Linked DNA regions of Homo sapiens: all the other regions are linked to region 2. The links are contacts of gene promoters, found by promoter capture Hi-C in blood cells and fetal thymus (Javierre and others, 2016). All regions are on one chromosome and are shown on one strand. Each heading gives the region's core, a stretch centred on a gene start or on the middle of the fragment in contact. The rest is flanking DNA. Distances are from core to core; before and after follow the strand shown. Region 1 overlaps LOC105372244 (a long non-coding RNA gene). Region 2 holds the start of TJP3 (tight junction protein 3). Region 3 has its middle 42 kb from the start of NFIC.

Region 1 (3,167 bases), core at 162-2,661, 410 kb before region 2:
TTAAAATTTAACCCAATGTTGTTAAACATTTAGAATGTGCACCCTTAAAAATACACCAATTCTGGGCACAGTGGCTCACGCCTGTAATCCCAGCACTTTGGGAGGCCAAGGCAGGCAGATCACTTGAGGTCAGGAGGTTCGAGACCAGTCTGGCCAAACATGGTGAAACCCCATCTCTATTAAAAATATAAAAATTAGCTGGGCACGGTGGCTCACACCTGTAATCCCAGCACTTTGGGAGGCTGACACGGGTGGATCATGAGGTCAGGAGATCGCGACCATCCTGGCTAACACGGTGAAACCCTGTCTCTACCAAAAATACAAAAATTGGCCGGGCGTGGTGGCAGGTGACTGTAGTCCCAGCTACTCGGGAGGCTGAGGCAGGAGAATGGCGTGAACCTGGGAGGCGGAGCTTGCAGTGAGCTGAGATCATGCCACTGCACTTCAGCCTGGGTGACACAGCAAGACTCCATCTCAAAAAATAAATAAATAAGTAAGCCAGGCATGGTGGTGGGCACCTGTAATCCCAGCTACTTGGGAGGCTGAGGCAGGAGAATCTCTTGCACCTGTGAGGTGGAGTTTGCATTGAGCCAAGATTGTGCCATTGCACTCCAGCCTGGACAACAGAGCAAGACTCCATCTCAAATAAATAAATAAATATTAAAAAATAAAAATAAAATACACCAATTCCGCCACTGAGTGTCTCCTTAAGAATGAGCAAGGATGTGCTTAGGACAGAGGAACACTAGCTATGCTATAAGTGCTCATCTGAGGCATAGGCTAAGTGACATGCAGGGTGCATTAGTTAGGTGTTGCTGCATAACAATTTACCCATCCCCCAGTCTGTCAGCTTAAAACATACATTATTATCTGACCTACACCATTTCTGTTGATCAGGAGTCCAGGACTGATTTAGCTGGGTGGTTCTGGCTCAGGGTCTCATGAGATTGCAAACTGTCAGCAGCCAAGTCTGTCACATCTGAAGGTTCGACTGGGGCTGGAGGAGCCACTCCTACTCTGGCTCCCTCATGTGGCTGTTGGTGGGAGGCCTCAGCTCTTTGCCACGTGTGAATCTCCATAGTGCTACTTGAGCATCCTTACAACATGGTGGCTGGTTTTTCCTGGAGTGTGATCCAAAAGAGAGAGACAGAGAGAGAGAGACTGCACTGACTTTTTGTTTGTTTGTTTTGAGACAGGGTCTCGCTCTGTTGCCCAGGCTGAAGTGCAGTGGCACCATCCTAGCTCAGTCCAGTCTTGAAATCCTGGGCTCAAGAGATCCCTCTGAGTAGCTGGGTCTACAAATGTGTGCGTCACCATGCCCAGTTTATTATTTTACTTTTTGGAGTGGCGGGGTCTCACTCTATTGCCCAGGCTGGTCTCGAACTCCTGGGCTCAAGCAAGCCTCCCCGCTGGGCCTCCCAAAGTGCTGGGATTACAGGCGTGAGCCACTGTGCCCACTGCAAACATTTACTCTTCACAACTCTGGTAGCTTCCTTTTCCCCAGAGCATGCTACAGCCACACAGTAAAGCCTTACGTCTATTGAGCACCTGCTATGTGCAGCTTGTGATCAACTCTTTTTGTCCTCACCACAACCAACCAACAACGTAGGTTTCTATTATAATTCTCACTTTGCCGATGAGAAAACGGAGGGGCAGGTTTGTGGAGAGGAAAACCCAAGGCCACACAGTTGGTATGTGGTGGAGCCAGGATTTGAAACTGCGACCCGTTAACTCCTGCCTCGGTTCCCCTCCCTTCTCATTCACTGCAGGGATCACAGTTATAACCCCCTGCTTATGTATGCGCTGGCTTGTTTGATGTCTGTCTACCCAACATAACCTGGCGGGTTTCATGACAGGATGGTATGAGTGCACAGTAAGTGTGTTTGGCTTTGTTTTAATGTTATGGGGTTTTTTTTTTTTAATTATTTACTTATTTTGAAAGAGAGTCTCACTCTGTCACCCAGGCTGGAGTGCAGTGGTGCGGTATCAGTTCACTGCCACCTCCACCTGTTGGGTTCAAGCAATTCTGCTGCCTAAGCCTCCCGAGTAGCTGAAAATACAGGCATGGGTCACCATGCCCAGCTAATTTTTGTGTGTGTATGTGTGTGTGTGTGTGTGTGTGTGTGTGTGTGTGTGTATTTTTAGTAGAGATGGAGTTTCCCCATGTTGGCCAGATTGGTCTCGAACCCCTGACCTCAGCTGATCCACCCGCCTCAGCCTCCCAAATGCTGGAATTACAGGCTTGAGCCGCCACGCCCAGCCTGTTTTTATGTTGAGACAGGGTCTCCCTCTGTCACTCAGGCTGGAATGCAGTGGCACAATCATAGCTCACTGAAGTCTCCAACTCCGGGGCTCAAGCAATCTTCCTGCTTCAGCCTCCCAAGTACCTGGGACTACAGATGCATACCATCACACCTGGCTAATTTTTTTCAGTATTTTTTGTAGAGACGGGGACTAGTTATGTTGCCCAGGCTGGTCTCAAACTCCTGGGCTCAAGCGATCCTCCTGCCTTGGCCTCCCAAAGTGCTGGGATTACAGGCATGAGCCCTTACACCTGGCTGAATTTTGTTTTTCTGTTCCCTGTTGCCTAGCACATGATACCTGCTTACCATTAATAAATGCACTAAAAACACAATGGTTGAGTTTAGAACCAGACTGTCCCAGGTTTGAAACCGGTTTATAACATTGAATGGCTGTGTGTCCTTGAGCCAGCAGCTGAATCCTCTGGGGACCAGTTTTTCTCTCTCTCTCTGGAAAACGAGGCCAATCCAGCTCACAAAGCGTTAATATGTATAAAGTCCTTCCTGGCCCGGAGAAAGCACTGCAGAAGCTTTAAAATAAATCAGCCCTTAAAAATTCACTTTCCGGCTGGGTGCGGTGGCTCACGCCTGTAATCCCAGCACTTTGGGAGGCCAAAGCGGGCGGATCACTTGAGATCAGGAGTTCGAGACCAGCCTGGACAAAATGGCAACCCCCCCCTCCAACTCTACTAAAAATGCAAAAATTAGCCGGGTGTGGTGGTGCGCACCTGTAATCTCAGCTACTCGAGAGGCTGAGGCAGGAGAATCGCTTGAACCCGGGAGGCGGCGGTTGCAGTGAGCCGAGTTCCCGCCACTGCACTCCAGCTTGGGCGACAGAATGAGACTTTTTTTTAAAATTACTTTCCG
Region 2 (2,920 bases), core at 162-2,661:
ACCTCCCAGGGTCAATTGATCCTCCCACCTCAGCCTCCTGAGTTTCTGGGACTACAGGTGTGTACCACCACATCTGGCTAATTTTTAAAAAAGTTTTCTGGGCTGGGCGTGGTGGCTCACGCCTGTAATCTCAGCACTTTGAGAGGCCAAGGCAGGCGGATCACCTGAGGCCAGGAGTTCAAGACCAGCTTGGCCAATATGGTGAAACTCCGTCTCTACAAAAATACAAAAATTAGCTGGGCATGATGGCTGGTGCCTGTAATGCAATCCCAGCTACTCGGGAGGCTGAGGCAGGAGAATCACTTGAAACCGGGAGGCAAAGGTTGCAGTGGGCCGAGATCAAGCCATTGCACTCCAGCCTGGGCAACATAGCAAGACTCTGTCTCAAAAAAATAAAAAAAAAATAAAATAAAAACAAAAAACAAAACAAAACCAACAACAGCCAGCAGCAACAACAAAAAAACTTTTCTAGGCCAGGCTCGGTGGCTCACGCCTGTAATCCCAACACTTTGGGAGGCCGAGGCGGGCAGATCACTTGAGGTCAGGAGTTTGAGACCAGCCTGGCCAACATAGGAAAACCCCGTCTCTACTGAAAAAAAAAAAAAAAATTAGCTGGGCGTGGTGGTGCACGCCTGTAATCCCAGCTACTTGGGAGGCTGAGGCAGAAGAATCACTTGAACCCAGGAGGCGGAGGTTGCAGTGAGCCGAGATCGCGCCACTGCACTCCAGCCTGGGTGACAGAGGGAGACTCCATCTCAAAACAAACAACAAACAAAAGATATATAAAAATTTTTCTAGAGATGGGTTTCACCGTGTTACCCAGGCTGGTCTCAAATTCCCAGGCTCAAGTGATCCTCCCACCTCGGCCTCCCAAAGTGCTGGAATTACAGGTGTGAGCCACCACACCTGACCCTTTCTTGTTTTTTAGATGAGGACAGCAAGAAGCCCCTGTAATTTGCCCAAAGCCACACAGCGGGGAAGTGGCAGAAGCTTCTGTACGTAGGAACCCAGTCACTTCGTAGCAGAGAGGCAGACTGCGCACAGATCTGCGTGGGGAAGGGAGTGCGCCAAGCCACAGCCTGATGGGCCGGCGTGCCTGGCAGGAGGCTCAGCAAGCACAGAGACTGGGCAGCTCCAGATGCAAGAAGCAGGAGGGAGGGGGACTCCGGGAGTGCGGTCCATTCATGTCTGAATGTAGCCAACGAGGGTTTCCTAAGCACCTACCATGTGCGGACGCTTGATACCAGGGCCTCGGCGGTGAGGGCACAGGCAGGAGCAAGCTCACCTCTGGGCAAGCAGGGGTTAAGGCCAGTTGCTCCCACGTGAGGGCACCTTGCGACAGAGCCACACACCCAGTCCTCCTGCTGGCCCGCCCCTCACCCTGGTCCGTCTCCCTGTGTCTGTGGTCGTCAGTTCCACTGGCAGGGGACCTGCCTCCCTGTTGCCACCACAAGAGAGGAAAAGTTGGTCAAACAGGTGGGGAGGCCAGAGCTACAAGCCTCGGGTTCCCTCCCCACCACCCGTGCCAGGCAGGCACCCGGGCCCTGGCACCTGCTGCCTGCCCAGAGGCCACCCAGCCTCCTAGACAGGTAAGTCCCCCGCCCCACTGTGCTTTTCCACCCAGTGTGCATTGTCTGAGCTGGCCTTCCCCAGCTGAGGGTCCTTAGACTCCCCCCCAACCTCCCCCACCACGAGCTGTCTCCCCGGCTCCTCGGAAAGCAGGAAACTGACACTCCTGCGTGGGCATCTGACATAGTTTCGTAGGGATTATCTGACCGGCAGTTACTGCACCTGGCGGCCTGCCCAGGACGCTGAGCTGGAAACTTAAAAGGGTCATTGTTACCTAGGTGGCGCAGGGACCGGGGAGGCGGCAAAGGGGCACAGGTTGGTCTCTGATCCCCCTAACTGAGGAGGGGAGGGGATATCAGTCCAGACGGAGCCTGGGTTTACCTCCTGCAGCCCGAGGCTAGGAGGTGACAGGTGGGAAAGGCTGCGACCTCACTCATCTCTGAGCCTCCTGGAACTTCTTAAAAGGCTCCCAAGTTTTGAAACAACTGCGTCTCCCGCCCCCCAACCCCTCACCCTGTTCTCACCGCTGGAACCTCCAGGAGCTTTGCAGGGAGGGATTGGGGTGGCCTTTCTTTTGCTAATTTTTTTTTTGAGACGGAGTTTTGCTCTTGTTGCCCAGGCTGGAGTGCAGTGGTGCGATCTTGGCTCACTGCAACCTCTGCCTCCACCTCTGCCTCCCGAGTAGCTGGGATTACAAGCGCCCACCACTATGCCCAGCTAATTTTTGTATTTTTAGTAGAGATGGGGTTTCACCATGTTGGCCAGGCTGGTCTCGAACTCCTGACCTCAGGTGATCCAACCCCCTCGGCCTCCCAAAGTGCTGGGATTACAGGCGCAAGCCACTGCGCCCAGACTTCTTTTTCTAATCTTTACTCCTCCGAGCAAAATCTCTGTGGGATGGGGCAGAGGGGAAGGAGGAAGGAGCGCTCAGAGCCAGAGAGGGGAGGGGTCGGCAGCAAAAGTGTTTTTCTGGGTCATTTGCTCCCAAATGGGAAGACCAAGGGAGCTTCCTCGTGAGCCAAGTGTCCGATTGCATCTCAAGTCTCTCTCCAGAACCAAGAGGGTCCCCCGGGGCCGAGGAGGCATGGATGATCGCATAGTGGGGGACAGAGCGGCCCGGCATTTGGGGTCACCTTGTGGCTGTGTGGCTGCAGAGCTCCCAGGGAGCAGGCTTGCTTGAGATTCGGGAGTCCGTGGGGGTGGGCGACATGGATCCCACCTTGCCTGGGTTTTGAGAGCAAACCCGTGGACTCAGTTAGATCTGGCTTCCACACCTCCCTTCTCTCCGGGCCTCTGTTTCCTGCTCTGTAAAATGGGGATATTGAGGGCCGGGCGCGGTGGCTCACGCCTG
Region 3 (2,846 bases), core at 325-2,824, 380 kb before region 2:
GGTGGATGGGTGAATGGATGGGAAGGTGGATGGATAGATGGATAAAGGGATGAAGGGAGTGGTGGATAGATGGATGGATGGATGGATGGATGAATAGAGGGAAGGATGGGTGAATGGATGGGAAGGTGGATGGATAGATGGACAAAGGGATGAAGGGAGTGGTGGACAGATGGATGGATGGATGGATAGAGGGATGGATGGGTGGATGGGTGAATGGATGGGAAGGTGGATAGATAGATGGATAAAGGGCTGAAGGGAGTGGTTGATAGATGGATGGATGGTTGGTTGGCTGCATGTGTGGGTGGATCAATGGGTAGGTGGAGCCTGAAGACAGAAGTGGCTGCCCTGAGTGTGAAGGCAAAGGCACAGCCCTGGGAAGCCCCCACATCAGGGCCAGGAAGAGGAGATTTGGGGAGGAAGCAGGAACTGTGCCAGTTGCCCCTGTAACTGCCTCTCTGTGAGGCCTCCCCACCCAAGTCCTTTCCTCTACCCCTCTTCCCCAGAAATGGCTTTGGGACTTGAAATCCCCGCCCCCCGCCCCACACCCCACCACACACACACACATGGCTCAGCTCTGGGGGGCCTACCGCAGACAAATCAGTGGAAAATTAAAATAGTGCCTGTGCACTGGTGATCGGCGGCTTCAGCCGGGCACTTAATGATCCCTTTCTGGGGATTGTTACCAGCTGGAGGTGGCGGGGGGGTGGGGGGTCTTCACCAGCCACCCAATCTGAGCAGTAGGGGGTGGTCCCTGGGAGAGGGGGTGCAGCCCACAAAGCCAGAAGTTGGCAGTGATGGCAAAGCTGGGAAGGGCTTAGGCAGGGAAAGGGATGACCTTGAGCTCCGGGGATGAACCCACTTGGACCCCTGCACCCCTGTGGCCCCTGCTGGGACGTCCTTTCTCTCTCAGTTTGGCTAGATGGCTCCAGCTCATCTTGTAGTTCTCAGGTCCAATGTCACCACCTCCAGGAAGCCCTCCTGGACTAGGTCAAATCCCCTCAGAAGTATCTAACCATCCTTATCTATAATCCTATTTGCCTGGAGGCCTTGAGAGCAAAACCTCACTTTGCCACATTAGCTGTGTGTCCTTGGGGAAGTCACTTTCCCCCTCTGTGGCTTGTTTTCCTCATTTGTAAAATAAGGCTGTTAGGAGAATTTTTTTTCTTTTTTAGAGACAGGATGTGACTCTGTCATCCAGGCTGGAGTGCGGTGGCACGATCACAGTTCACTGCAGCCTCAAATTCCCTGGGTTCAAGCGATCCTCCCACCTCAGCCTCCCAAGTAGCTGAGACTACAAGTGTATGCCACCATGCTTGGCTAATTTTTTAGTAGAGATGGGAGGTCTCAGTATGTTGCCCAGGCTGGTCTCGAACTCCTGACCTCAAGTGATCCTCCCGCCTCGGCCTCCCAAAGGGCGGAATTACAGGCATGAGCCATCTCGCTGGGCCCCTGTTGGGAGGATTAAATGAACAATTGTGGGTAAACTGGTATTTACTGAGCCTTTATTATGTACTGGGCACAGGGTTGAATCTGGTCCTCAAATTCTCAAAATAAGCCAATCAATGCCAGCAAGATGTTCATCCCCATTTTAGGGAGAGAGTCACTGAGGCCCCTAGGAATGAGATAAATTCACTTAATACCGTCACTGTGTGCCCGGACCAGTTCAGTTCCCTCTGCTCTCACCCCTCACAGTCTGTCCTCCCCACAGCAGCCACCAGAGGGCGCCTGTGAGCACCTGGATCAGGTCCTGTCCCTCCTCTACCTACAACCCTCCATGGCTCCTACCTCCCTCAGGGTCAAAGCCCAAGTCCTCCCCATGGTCCACATGACCTGCCCCATCCTCTCCCTGCCCTCCCTTCTTCCCTCTCTTCCCACTAACTCTCTCTGCTGCAGCCACACGGGCCTCCTTGCTGTTCCTCCAACATGCCAGGCGTGGTCCTGCCCCAGGGCCTTTGCACAGGCTGTGCCTTCTGCTCAAGATGCCCTTCCACCTCCCCTTAGACAAACTGGCTGTGCCTCCTCCATCTGGCCTCAACTCAAATGGCATCCAGAACACCCCTCCCCCAACTAAAGGAGGTCCTCCTGCTGTAGTGTCTGACCCAGCCCCATTCTTGTGAATGTAACAGACACACACACACACACACACACACACACACACACACACACACACACACACACTGCAGTCATGCTGTATGTGACTTGGCAGGCGTCTCTGTTCCTCACTCAACTGCAGGGAGGGAGATACTTCTGTCCTAGCCTTCTCAGGGCCTCTAGCACCCCACATCAGAGAGCATGGCTCATAATTGGCACTGAAGGACCAGGCGCAGTAGCTCACACCTGTAGTCCCAGCAGTTTGGGAGGCCGAGGCAGGTGGATCACCTGAGGTCAGGAGTTTGAGAGCAGCCTGACCAACATGGTGAAACCCCATCTCTACTAAAAATACAAAAATTAGCTTAAAAATACAAAAATTAGCTGGGTGTGGTGGCAGGCAAGTGTAATCCCATCTACTTGGGGGGCTGAAGCAGGAGAATCACTTGAACCTGGGAGGTGAAAGTTGTAGTGAGCCGAGATCGTGCTGCTGCACTCTAGCCTGGGTGACAAGAGTGAGACTCCCATCTAAAAAAAAAAAATCTCTATCAGTATGGATTTGTACAGATTAATGTTATACTTTGGTTTCTAATCCAATTATGTGTACACACACACACATTATATATATATCCTCAACAACAGCAAACATTATAGAAATATTTGCAATGTACTTGCAAAAGAATTTTACTGGGCAACAAATATGTAAAGAGTTCCTACAAATCAATAAGAAAAGATCAACTGAAAAAATATGCAAAGGA

Evidence for each region. Contacts are between HindIII fragments. The CHiCAGO score rates a contact against its expected background, and 5 or more counts as called.
Region 1: a contact is called between a fragment that was not itself captured here and the fragment with the promoter of TJP3 in region 2, in 1 of 17 cell types (endothelial precursors). The highest score is 5.4, in endothelial precursors.
Region 3: a contact is called between a fragment that was not itself captured here and the fragment with the promoter of TJP3 in region 2, in 4 of 17 cell types (total B cells, M0 macrophages, naive B cells and 1 more). The highest score is 8.6, in total B cells.

The regions. Positions count from the first base shown.
Region 1 is chr19:3,301,915-3,305,081 of GRCh38, forward strand. LOC105372244 (a long non-coding RNA gene) reads right to left here. Exons shown (of 3, transcript NR_187753.1): 2 at 882-1,121. Among named protein-coding and RNA genes, the nearest start is that of NFIC, 63 kb to the right of the region's middle. The HindIII fragment of the contact is 2,833 bases long and covers 1-2,828 here.
Region 2 is chr19:3,706,973-3,709,892 of GRCh38, forward strand. TJP3 (tight junction protein 3) reads left to right here and starts at 1,412. Exons shown (of 21, transcript NM_001267560.2): 1 at 1,412-1,589. RefSeq lists enhancers at 857-1,520, 1,521-2,182. The HindIII fragment of the contact is 2,818 bases long and covers 989-2,920 here.
Region 3 is chr19:3,322,866-3,325,711 of GRCh38, forward strand. No RefSeq gene overlaps it. Among named protein-coding and RNA genes, the nearest start is that of NFIC, 42 kb to the right of the region's middle. The HindIII fragment of the contact is 5,453 bases long and covers 1-2,846 here.